Regions from separate parts of the Homo sapiens genome. Here regions 2, 3 and 4 are each linked to region 1. Evidence: promoter capture Hi-C in human tissues and cell types (Jung and others, 2019). All regions are on one chromosome and are shown on one strand. The core of a region is centred on a gene start or on the middle of the fragment in contact, and the rest is flanking DNA. Distances in the headings are between cores, read along the strand shown. Region 1 holds the start of ADAMTS17 (ADAM metallopeptidase with thrombospondin type 1 motif 17). Region 2 overlaps ADAMTS17 (ADAM metallopeptidase with thrombospondin type 1 motif 17). Region 3 has its middle 160 kb from the start of LYSMD4. Region 4 overlaps ADAMTS17 (ADAM metallopeptidase with thrombospondin type 1 motif 17).

The links. The method cuts DNA at HindIII sites, captures the fragments that hold promoters and counts their contacts. A contact is called where the count stands out against the background at its distance.
Region 2: a fragment that was not itself captured here is called in contact with the fragment with the promoter of ADAMTS17 in region 1 in 3 of the 25 tissues and cell types used here (H1 embryonic stem cells, mesendoderm cells and stomach).
Region 3: a contact is called between a fragment that was not itself captured here and the fragment with the promoter of ADAMTS17 in region 1, in 2 of the 25 tissues and cell types used here (dorsolateral prefrontal cortex and thymus).
Region 4: a fragment that was not itself captured here is called in contact with the fragment with the promoter of ADAMTS17 in region 1 in 1 of the 25 tissues and cell types used here (mesendoderm cells).

Annotation. Positions count from the first base shown.
Region 1 is chr15:100,340,389-100,343,234 of GRCh38, reverse strand. ADAMTS17 (ADAM metallopeptidase with thrombospondin type 1 motif 17) reads left to right here and starts at 1,260. Exons shown (of 22, transcript NM_139057.4): 1 at 1,260-1,414; 2 at 1,826-2,196. The coding sequence starts at 1,336. RefSeq lists an enhancer at 2,408-2,846. The HindIII fragment of the contact is 7,903 bases long and covers 1-2,846 here.
Region 2 is chr15:100,079,189-100,082,445 of GRCh38, reverse strand. The region is part of intron 15 of ADAMTS17 (ADAM metallopeptidase with thrombospondin type 1 motif 17); the gene reads left to right. Among named protein-coding and RNA genes, the nearest start is that of ADAMTS17, 260 kb to the left of the region's middle. The HindIII fragment of the contact is 5,822 bases long and covers 1-3,257 here.
Region 3 is chr15:99,896,157-99,899,210 of GRCh38, reverse strand. No RefSeq gene overlaps it. Among named protein-coding and RNA genes, the nearest start is that of LYSMD4, 160 kb to the right of the region's middle. RefSeq lists an enhancer at 2,598-2,677. The HindIII fragment of the contact is 3,835 bases long and covers 1-3,054 here.
Region 4 is chr15:99,990,108-99,993,199 of GRCh38, reverse strand. ADAMTS17 (ADAM metallopeptidase with thrombospondin type 1 motif 17) reads left to right here. Exons shown (of 22, transcript NM_139057.4): 20 at 1-152. Among named protein-coding and RNA genes, the nearest start is that of LYSMD4, 260 kb to the right of the region's middle. RefSeq lists enhancers at 1-441, 442-956. The HindIII fragment of the contact is 5,236 bases long and covers 1-3,092 here.

The DNA of each region.
Region 1 (2,846 bases), core at 11-2,510:
GAGCAGGACAGGGAAGGGACGGGAAACCTGAGATTGGTTATGGTTACACTTAATTGTTTTTTTTGTTTTGTTTGGTTTTGTTTTGTTTTTTTGAGATGGAGTCTTGCTCTGTTGCCCAGGCTGGAGTGCAGTGGCACAATCTCGGCTCACTGCAACCTCCACCCCCCGGGTTCAAGCGATTCTTCTGCCTTAGCCTCCCGAGTAGCTGGGACTACAGGTGTGCGCCATCACGCCTGGCTAATTTTTGTATTTTTAGTAGAGACAGGGTTTCACCATATTGGCCAGGCTAGTCTGGAACCCCTGACTTCGTGACCCGCCCGCCTTGGCCTCCCAAAGTGCTGGGATTACAGGCATGAGCCTCTACAAGATGCTATTCAGCAAGCTAATGGAGTCACCTTCCCTGCAGACCTCAGTTATATTGTGGCAGGAAAGGATCAACTCATTCTGTTTCTGGGAGACTCACGTTCAAGGCTAGGCTTTGGGACTTTGTGCCTCCGTTTCCTAACCTGTAACACTGAGTCCTGCTTCCCTCGGGGCGGGGGGATCCTGCTGTTAATAAGAAGCACCAAGCCAGAAATCAGGATCACAAATTCTAGCCTCTGCTCCAACAGGAACTCTCTGGGTAACTTCAGCGTTTTTCCTTAAGCTCTCTCTCTTCCTCAGTTTTTCAGTCTGTAAGAGGGTGTGAGCATGCGTGTTGCACTGGCTCCTGTGGGATTAAAGAAGACAGGAGGTGTGAAGAGTTTGGATAAACGCCGCGGATATAGCCTTCAGGTGCTAACTCAGGTGTGCGGGAAAGTGGACTGGGAGTCTTTGCGGCCACAAACAACTAAAACCTAACTTCAGATGTAAAGATTATATGCAGTTTTGGATGAAACCGCTTGGCCGGGGCGATTTCCGCCCTACCTTCCCGGGAAACTGGGCAGCAGGCTGAGAGAGTTCCAAAATGAGGACAAGCTCTGAAGACCAGCCCCGCATCCTCCAGCTCTTCCAGGGTCCCACGGCTCCGGTCGGCTCCCGCGCGCCACCTGGTGCCGTGTCCCCGCCACTGCCCAGAAACCACGTGTAAGAAAGCGCTGACAACCTAACTACGCACTGTGGTTTCGACCCATCCCAACCAGTAGGGAAGGAGGAGGCGGGGCGGAGGAAAGCGAGGGCCCAATCCCCTCCCGCCTTCCGAGGGGAAGGCGGGGCTTGGGGTTTACCACGTTGGGTTTGTCCGCAGCGCTAATTACTTTTTCCAAAGGCTGGAGGGCTTCACTCCGGCTGGCGCCGCCGCCTAGCGCGCTCCTGCTTCGCCGCCACGGTCCGGGGGGGCTGCCGGTCCCGGGTACCATGTGTGACGGCGCCCTGCTGCCTCCGCTCGTCCTGCCCGTGCTGCTGCTGCTGGTTTGGGGACTGGACCCGGGCACAGGTAGCGCCCCCTCCCACAGCCCTCTTCACCCCGCGTCCTGCGGCTACCTTCCCTCTGCGTTCTCGCGGCGTCCTGGCGGCCCGGGGGCGGCGGCGGGACCGCTGACGGCGCCCGAGCGGAGGAGGCGCGGGCCGCGGCCGGAGTACGGGAATCGGGTGGCTCCGTGGCAGGCGCGCCGCCGCCGGGTCTCCGCTCGCCGATGCGCGGCGCCGTTCCGGGAGGTGCTCGCGCGGCTGCGCCGGAGACCCTCCCCGGGTGGCGCGGGCCAGCGTGGAGGTGCCGGGCGAGGGAAGGGAAGGCAGCGCCGGCTCCGGGTCGCGCTGTCCCCGCGCTGGCGCGGCTGGCGGCCAGCGGGAGGGCGGGCGTCCGGGCGGGCCCCGCCGCGCTGACGCGTCTCCTCTCTCCCCGCAGCTGTCGGCGACGCGGCGGCCGACGTGGAGGTGGTGCTCCCGTGGCGGGTGCGCCCCGACGACGTGCACCTGCCGCCGCTGCCCGCAGCCCCCGGGCCCCGACGGCGGCGACGCCCCCGCACGCCCCCAGCCGCCCCGCGCGCCCGGCCCGGAGAGCGCGCCCTGCTGCTGCACCTGCCGGCCTTCGGGCGCGACCTGTACCTTCAGCTGCGCCGCGACCTGCGCTTCCTGTCCCGAGGCTTCGAGGTGGAGGAGGCGGGCGCGGCCCGGCGCCGCGGCCGCCCCGCCGAGCTGTGCTTCTACTCGGGCCGTGTGCTCGGCCACCCCGGCTCCCTCGTCTCGCTCAGCGCCTGCGGCGCCGCCGGCGGCCTGGTACTGCCCGCGCCACCTCCGGGTCGGCCCGTCCGGTCTGTTGCGACGCAGAGTGGTCGCCGTGGAGGGTGGGGGTGGGGCGCCTCTGCTGGAAGTCCAGCCTCCAGGGGAACCGGAGGGAACCCCCTGCCTTTCCACCTCTCCCCATCCCCCACCCCGGCCTTCGGTACCCTCTATAGGCAAAGGGGGTGGGAGGGGCAGCATCCCAGTCCAGCGCCTCTGCAGCCCGTGGAACCCGCGCGGAGCTGGGGTTGCGTGGGGTATACGCCGCCCGCTCTAGGGAGCGCAGATCTGGCAGGGATGAAACTGTCAGGGCCCTGGACAGAGGCGCCTTGGCCCCAATGTAGAGAACACTGCATCTGCACCGCCGTGTCAAAGTGTATGTCACGGGAGTACCTGTGTACGTGTAGGTGTTATGTTCTTGGACTTGGAGGTGGGGGAGTGGGCATTCACCTCCCTTCCTTTTGAGTCTTCTCTCTGTACCTGGAACAGGAAGTTTGGAGAGGTACCCAGACAGGCCACGGCTCACCCCACTCTTCCTAGCTGAAACGTAAGAAACAGGAGAGAAAGGGTGTTTGTCTTTGCTTCCTTATACTATTAGTAGGCATTTATCTGGTGCCCACCCCCAACCAGGCCTGAGGGGTGTTTAC
Region 2 (3,257 bases), core at 290-2,789, 260 kb after region 1:
TCACGCCACTGCACTCCATCCTGGGCAACAGACTGAGACCCTGTCTCAAAAAAAAAAAAAGACTATCAAAACCATGCAATAAGGCCAGGCACGGTGGCTCACGCCTGTAATCCCAGCACTTTGGGAGGCCAAGGTGGGTGGATCATGAGGTCAAGAGATGGAGACCATCCTGGCTAACATGGTAAAACCCCATCTCTACCAAAAATACAAAAATTAGCTGGGCGTGGTGGCACGTGCCTGTAGTCCCAGCTACTCGGGAGGCCGAGGCAGGAGAATCGCTTGAACCCAGGAGGCGAAGGTTGCAGTGAGCCAAGATTGCACCGCTGCACTCCAGCCTGGGCAACAGAAGCAAGACTCTTGGTCTCAAAGAAAACAAAAAAATCAATAAAAGCAAAGAAACAACAGATGATAGACTGATAGACTGACAATTTTTGCAACATGTCTAGTAAGTAAAGAGTCTGAGTCCAAATATTATCAAATTATAGTAATATATGTTATGGACATTTTTTAAACTACTGCATCATAACTAAATAAAAGATGGTAGAAAAATGGGCAAAGCTTAAGAACAAGGCCATTAACTGAAAAGGGAAAACAAATGGTCAATAAGTGTATAGGACGCTGAGCCTTGTTGGTTATCAGGGAAATGCAAATTCAACTTATGACAACATCTTTTCACCAAATGGATTAGCAAATACTAAGAAGATTGATTTTGTCAAGTATTTAGAAATCTTTGAGTAAACGTTTACTCTCGTATAGTGTTGGTTGGCTTAAATAGTATTTAAACCAAGGTCAACTAAGCAGCACCTGTGTTTGTCTCAGTGATTCTCACAGTAGCTGACCTGGTAGGACATTATATCTATGCATAAGAAGACATGTACAAAGCCATTCATAGAAGTATTGTTTCTTTTCTAAGCAGCTTTATAAAGATAGAATTCACATGCCATATAATTCACCCATTTAAAGTGTGCGATTGAATGAGTTTTAGCACAAGGTCATGCAGCCATGTATTAGGGTTCTGTAGAGGAGATACACACATACATATATATGGGAGTTTATTAAGTAGTGTGTGTGTATGTATGTGTGCATATATATATAGGGGAGTTTATTAAGTATTAACTTACGTAATCACAACATCCCACAATAGGCTGTCCGCAAGCTGAGGAGCAAGGAGAGCCAGTCCCAGTCCCAAAACTGAAGAACTTGGGGTCTGATGTTCCAGGGCAGGAAGCATCTAGCACAGGAGAAAGATGTAGGCTGGGAGCCTAGGCCCACCTCTCCTTTTCATGTTTTTCTGCCTGCTTTGTATTTGCTGGCAGCTGATTAGATTGTGCCCACCAGATTAAGGGTGGATCTGCCTTCCCCAGCCCCCTGACCCAAATGTTAAACTCTTTTGGCAACACCCTCACAGACACATCCAGGATCAATACTTTGTATCCTTTAATCTAATCAAGTTGACACTCAGTATCAACCATCACAAGTCCACCCCAAGTCAACTTGAACCCATACACATCTCCTGAGAACACACATAGTCTTCAAATAAAGACAATAATAAGGTCATAATTACCCCTAACATACTACAGCTATCCTTCGTACAACCAGAAATACACCAATCCCCAACCCAAATACTATTACATAAAGTTAACAATACTTAACATGCTGATATGAAGTCAATAAATGTTATGTCACATGATAAAGGAAAAGGAAATATACTTTCTTAGTACAAGTGTATACATGCACAAACATGTTTTTAGCAAAAAAAGGAGGAAATAATTACAGACTTCATTTCTGCAGCTGGTCACATGGTTGTAGCTGGTATCGATAACTACCTTTTTCTACTACCCGTTCTGTATTCCCTTTGCCTTCAGCAAGCACCTCAGCAAGACGTGGGTTTTTTCTTGGTGGAGTGACCCAAACCTTCATTCCTGAATGGTCTGGGTCATTTGTAGTCCTGCCTGGATTGGGCTGTTGTAGTTTCCCATTGACCTTAGTCACAGGGCATGGTGATACTAAGAGACGCCCTAATGGATCTCCTGTATTCCATGCATACTCTTCCTTACCTCCTTTGTGGAGTAGTAGACTGATTTCATCTTGATAGTCCAGGTCAGTCACCCCAGTCAACACTGTAACTCCCTTCTTGGCCTGTTGACTTAAAGGTGGGAGGAGCCCAAAGTGTCCAGGTGGGTACCAATCTTCCAGTTTAATGGAATCATTGTGTCTCCTGGTGGCAGCATTTCTCCCTCTGGAACTAAGATCTCCAGGCCAGCAGAATGTAATGTCGGGGGAACAGGAAGCAAAAATTTTGCTAGGGGATCACTAGGGGTGATGGTGAGTGGTGTCAGTTCAGTTTCACCCCTTGATTCCTGGACCGTGAATCCTGGCTATGGGAGAAACAGTACCGTATATTGGATGCTAATTCAGAACATATACGGCCTGCTGGAGAACTTTGCCTCAGCCCTGCAAAGTGTTGTCACCTAGTTGGCATTGTAATTGTGACTTCAAAAGGCCATTCCACCGTTCTTTGCAGCCTCTTCAGGATGATGGAGAACATGGTAAGACCAGTGAATTCCATGAGCATAAGCCCACTGCCACACCTCTTTAGCTGTAAAGTGAGTGCCTTGGTCAGAGGCAGTGCTGTGTGGAATACCATGATGGTGGATAAGGCATTCCGAGACTCCACGGATGGTAGTCTTGGCAGAAGCATTTCGTGCAGGATAGGCAAACCCATATCCGGAGTAAGTGTCTATTCCAGTGAGGACAAACCACTGCCGTTTCCATGATGGAAAAGGTACAATATAATCAACTTGCCACCAGGTTGCTGGCTGATCACCCCAAGGAATGGTGCCATATCACCACAGTCATTCCCAAAAGAAACCCCATGCTTGGTAGCAGTCATTCCCCATCTCCCTCTTAAGCCCTAGGTAACCACTCATCTAATGTCTGTATCTACAAATTTGCCTATCTGGACATTTCATGTAAATGGAGTAGTATAATACGTGGTCCTTCCTGACAGGCTTTTTTCCCTTAGCATAGTATTTTCAAGTCATGCATGTTGTCACATACATCAATGTTTCTTTTTATTGCCAAATACTATTCCATTGTTTGGAGATATCACATTGTATAAATACAGTCATTGGTTGATTGGTATTTGGATTGTTTCCACTTTTTTGGCTGTTAGGAATAATGCTGATATAAACTTTTGTGTACGAGTTACCATGTGGACATGTTTTCATTTCCCTTGTGTATATACCTGGGAATGG
Region 3 (3,054 bases), core at 245-2,744, 440 kb after region 1:
TGGATGCCTTTTATTTCTTTCTCTTACCTAACTGCTCTGGCTAGGACTTTCAGTAACATGTTAAATGAAAGTGGTGAGAGCGGACACGTCCTTATCTTGTTCCTGATCTTAGAGGAAAAGCTTTCAACTTTTCACTGTTAAGTATGATGTTAGCTTTGGGATTGTCATATATGGCCTTTGTTGTGTTAAGGTACATTCATTCTGTTCCTTATTGAGAGTATCTATCATGAATGGATGTTGAATTTTGTCAAACACATTTTCTGCATCTATGGAAATGATCATATTAATTCTGTCTTTCATTCTTTTAATGTGGTAGATAGTATATATTGATTTGTGTATGTTGAACCATTCCTGCATCCCAGGGATAAATCCCACTTAATTATGAAAATTATATTGCTATTTAAACTGGTAGCTTCAAAATTCCTACTGTGTCAGTCAGTTTACCAGCAGAAAGCAGCTGTCACAAACAAATAAAGGTAATTGCAGAAGATTGAATAAAGAACCTATTTACAAAGGGAAGAACAGTGTATAGGAAAAGAACAGAGGTTAGTGAAATGCCCTATTCTAGTGACAGTGGAGCCATTACTGTCTTGGCCAGAACAGGCTAGAGGAGGAGTTTCTGGAACCTAGCATGAGACGTTGTAAGGAAAGGGCCATCTTGAGAGGAGCTTGGGCCTGTGAAGGACACATTCAGTCTGAGGTTACCAGGCAAGAAGCTATCCAGAAGAGTCAGTGCTGGGTGAGTTTCCTCTCATCTTCTGAAACCTGGTGATATGGTTTGGCTTTGTCCCCACCCAAATCTCATCTTGAATTCCCATGTGTTGTGGGAGGGACCTGGTGGCAGGTAATTGAATCATGAGGGCAAGTCTTTCCTGTGCTGTTCTCATGAGAGGAAGTCTCACAAGATCTGATGGTTAATATAAGGGGGAATTTTCCTTCACAAGCTCTCTCTTTGCCTGCTGCCATCCATGTAAGATGTGATTTGCTCCTCTTTGCCTTCCACCATGATTGTGAGGCTTTCCCAGCCACATGGAACTGTAAGTCTAATTAAACCTCTTTTGTAAATTGTCCAGTCTCAGGTATGTCTTTATTAGAAGCATGAAAAGAGGCTAATACAGGAAATTGGTACCAGTAGAGTGGGGCATTACTGAAAAAATACCCAAAAATGTAGAAGCAACTTTGGAACTGGGTAACAGGCAGAGGTTGGAACACTTTGGAGGGCTCAGAAAAAGACAGGAAAATGTGGGAAAGTGTGGAACTTCCTAGAGACTTGCTGAATGGCTTTAACCAAAAGCCTGATAGTGATATGGACAATAAGGGCCAGGCTGATGTGGTCTCAGATAGAGATGAGGAACTTGTTGGGAACTGGAGCAAAGGTGACTCTTGTTATGTTTTAGTAAAAAGACTGGCAGCATTTTGTCCCTGCCCTAGAGATTTGTGGATCTTTGAACTTGAGAGAGATGATTTAGTGCATCTGGTGGAAGAAATTTCTAAGCAGCAAAACATTCAAGAGATGACTTGGGTGCTGTTAAAGGCACTCAGTTTTATAAGGGAAGCAGAGCATAAAGGTTGAGAAAATTTGCAGCCTAACAATGTGATAGAAAAGAAAATCCATTTTATGAGTGGATTGCAGAAATTTGCATAAGTAACTAGGAGCCCAATGTTAATCCCCAAAACAATGGGGACAATGTCTCCAGGGCATGTCAGAGGTCTTCATGGTAGCCCCTTCCATCACAGGCTCAGAGGCCTAGGATAAAATGGTTTCCTGGGCCAGGCCCAGGGTCCCTGTGCTGTGTGCAATCTAAGGACTTGGTGCCCTGCATCCCAGCCACCCCAGCCATGACTAAAAAGGGCCAAAGTACAGCTTGGGCTTTGCTTCAGAAGGTGGAAGCCCCAAGCCTTGGCAGCTTCCACGTGGTGTTGAGTCTGCAGGTGCACAGAAGTCAAGAATTGAGGTTTAGGAACCTCGGCCTAGATTTCAGATGTATGAAAATGCCTGGATGCCCAGGCAAAAGTTTGCTGTGGCCAGGGTGGGAGTGGGGGGCTCATGGAGAACCTCAGCTAGGGCAGTGTGAAAGGGAAATGTGGGGTCAGAGCCCCCACACAGAGTCCTTACTGGGGCGCCATCTAGGGATGCTATGAGAAGAGGGCCACCATCCTCCAGACCCCAGAATGGCAGATTCACTGACAGCTTGTACCATCCACCTGGAAAAGTCACAGATACTCAATGCCAGCCGACAGAAGCAGCCAAGAGAGAGGCTGTACCCACCAAAGCCTCAGGGGTGGAGCTGCCCAAGACCATGGGAACCCACATCTTGCATCAGTGTGACCTGGATGTGAGACACAGAGCCAAAGGAAATCATTTCACAGCTTGAAGATTTGACTGCCTTGCTGGATTTCAGATTTGCATGGGGCCTGTAGCCCCTTTGTTTTGGCCAATGTCTCCCATTTGGAATGGCTGTATTTATCCAATGCTTATACCCACATCTTATCTAGGAAGTAACTAACTTGCTTTTGATTTTACAGGCTCATAGGCAGAAGGCAATTCTCTTGTCTCAGATGAGACTTTGGACTATTGACTTTTGAGTAATGCTGAAATGAGTTAAGACTTTGCAGGACTGATGGGAAGGCATGATTGGCTTTGAAATGTGAGGACATGAGATTTGGGAGGGGCCAGGGGCAGAATTATATGGTTTGGCTGTGTCCCCACCAAAATCTTATCTTGAATTCCCACGTGTTGTGGGAGGGACCTGGTGGCAGGTAATTGAATCATGGTGCAGGTCTTTCCCGTGCTGTTCTCATGAGAGGAAGTCTCACAAGATCTGATGGTAAGGGGAAGTTTTCCTGCATAAGCTCTCTGTTTGCCTGCTGCTATCCACTTAAGACCTGACTTGCTCGTCCTTGCCTTCTGCCATGACTGTGAGGTTTCCCTAGCCAAGTGTAACTGTAAGTCCAATTATACCTCTTTCTTTTGTAAATTGCCCAGTCTCAGGTATGTCTTTATCAGCAGCGTGAGAACTGACTAATATGCCTGGCTAGGTTAACAGAGCTTAG
Region 4 (3,092 bases), core at 503-3,002, 350 kb after region 1:
GCTCTGCCAGCTGTGGTAAAGGGGTGTGGAAACGGACCGTGGCGTGCACCAACTCACAAGGGAAATGCGACGCATCCACGAGGCCGAGAGCCGAGGAGGCCTGCGAGGACTACTCAGGCTGCTACGAGTGGAAAACTGGGGACTGGTCTACGGTGAGAGCAGCCTGCTGGCATTTCTCTCCGTGCCGCAGTGCAGGGGGCTCGAGGGTCGGGAACTCAGCTCTTGTGACGGGTCCCAATTCTACGCGGCAGTCCCAGCGTAACTAGGCAAATTCATTTTCCTTCCACCCGCTGCAACTACCCAAGACCCCGTGTGCTTCCTCCCCTGCTTCTCCCACAGGCTGCACCAGCACTGCCCCTTGGGGCTCACTGGGAGAACCCCACTGCTTCACGTGCATGCAGAAGGAACCCGAAACGCAGCCCAAGGCAGGACGCGGGTGCCCTGGATGCCAGGCTTGCCATGCTGTGCGGTGTGCTGGCAGGCCCCAGCCTCCTGCCATGGGGACACTTGGGGCAAACATCACTTCCATTCACTCCCGGGACCCCTGGGCAAGGGCCTGGAGATGCAGGGACAGACAGGGCAGGGGGCCATGGGGTGGTAGCAGGGAGGAGTATCACAGAACCGCCGGGTCAGCACTCCCGAGAGCAAGGGTGAATAAAGGGCCACTGAATGTTTCTCCAGGTAAGAAAATGCTTTGTTGTTTAACTCCTCTTTTATTCATTCATCTGATATATTTGAATGATTCCTGTTTTCTGGGGACCAAGGTGAGCCCCACTGCCACCTGTAAGAACCTTCTAGTGGGTTTTCTAGACTCTTCTCACAAAATCTGTACCACTCCTCCTGTAAGCATAGACCGTGTTTGTCCTTCTGTATGGTCTTAGCAACTGAAAAACTCCTGCTTGCTTCTCCTGATAGCTCTTCCCTCAAAGATTGCCAACTGCTGACCTAGAGCCATTGGTTTTTGCTCAGCCTGCAGAATATCTTAAACATGTTGGAATTAGTGGCTAGCATTTTTTTTTTAAGTTCTGAGGTACATGTGCAGAAAGTGCAGGTTTGTTACACAGGTATACATGTGTCATGGTGGTTTGCTGCGCCCATCAACCCATCATCTAGGTTTTAAGCCCCAGATGCATTAGGTATTTGTCCTAATGTACTGCTTCCCCTAGCCCCCCACCCTACGACAGTCCCTGGTGTGTGATGTTCCCCTCCCTGTGTCCATATGTTCTCATTGCTCACCTCCCACTTATGAGTAAGAACATGCAGTGTTTGATTTTCTGTTCCTGTGTTAGTTTGCTGAGAATGATGGTTTCCAGCTTCATCCATGTCCCTGCAAAGGACATGAACTCATCCTTTTTTGTGGCTGCATAGTATTCCGTGGTATATATGTGCCACATTTTCTTTATCCAGTCTATCATTGATGGATATTTGGGTTGGTTCCAAGTCTTTGCTATTGTCAACAGTGCCGCAGTAAACGTATGTGTGCATGTGTCTTTATAGTGGAATGGTTTATAATCCTTTGGGTATATATTCAGTAAAGGGATTGCTGGGTCAAATGGTATTTCTGGTTCTAGATCCTTGAGGAATCGCCACACTGTCTTTCACAATGGTTGAACTAATTTACATTCCCCATGAACAGTGTAAAAGCATTCCTATTTTTCCACATCCTCTCCAGCATCTGTTGTTTCCTGACTTTTTAATGATCACCATTCTAACTGGCGTGAGATGGTATCTCATTGTGGTTTTGATTTGCATTTCTCTAATGACCAGTGATGATGAGCTTTTTTTCATATGTTTATTGGCTGCATAAATGTCTTCTTTTGAGAAGTGTCTGTTCATATCCTTCACCCACTTTTTGATGGGGTTGTTTGGTTTTTTCTTGTAAATTTGTTTAAGTTCTTTGTAGATTCTGGATATTAGCCTTTGGTCAGATGGATAGATTGCAAAATTTTTTCCCATTCTGTAGGTTGCCTGTTCACTCTGATGCTAGTTTCTTTTGCTGTGCAGAAGCTCTTTAGTTTAATTAGATCCCATTTGTCAGTTCTGGCTTTTGCTGCCATTGCTTTTGGTGTTTTAGTCACAAAGTCTTTGACCATGCCTATGTCCTGAGTGGTATTGCCTAGGTTTTCTTCTAGGGTTTTCATGGTTTTAGGTCTTAGGTTTAAGTCTTTAATCCATCTTGAGTTAATTTTTGTACAAGGTGTAAGGAAAGGGTCCAGTTTCAGTTTTCTACACATGGCTAGCCAGTTTTCCCAACACCGGGTATTAAATAGGGAATCCTTTCCCCATTGCTTGTTTTTGTCAGGGTTGTCAAAGATCAGATGGTTGTAGATGTGTGGCATTATTTCTGAAATTTCATTTGAAAATTTAGGTTTTGGCTTCGCTATGAAAATGTGGCAACATGGCTCAGGCAGGTAATTTTGCTTCTGCCTGTGCTTTACGGAAGGAAAAATGGGTTTTCCATTGGAAGGCAAAATTTATCAGAATCTGATCCCTGCAGAAATGCTACCACCTTCCCATCAGCCCAAGTCAGAACACAAAGTTCCCCAAACCCTTTGAGTAAAAAAAAAAAAAAAGCCAAATTTCCCAATTCCCAGTTTGCCTGGTAGTGCTAAGGTACCCTATTATTCTGGATTAACAGTGAATTTGAGAAGGACCTAAAACACCTCCTTCCTATTTACTCCCTGGTCAAAACATCTGACCAAGGCAATAGAACTGAGGCTGTCAGTCCAGTTTCCCCAAAACCAAACAGGGACGTCACACAGTTACTTGGATGTTAATAAAGCTTAGTATGGAGCTGCCAGGATGTATCTTTCACTGGCAGAGAAACTTAACTTCAGAGCTCCCACAAAAGATATGTGTGCTTTGGCTGGGCGTGGTGGCTCACACCTGTAGTCCCAGCACTTTGGGAGGCCAAGGCAGGATTGCTTGAGCCCAGAAGTTCCAGACCAGCCTGGGAAACATAGGGATACCCTGTCTCTACAAAAAAAAATCAAAAAAATAGCTGGGCGTGGTGGCACATGCCCATAGTCTTAGCTCCTTAGGAGGCTGAGGCGGGAGGATCACTTGAGCCAGGGAAGTCGAAGCTACAGTGA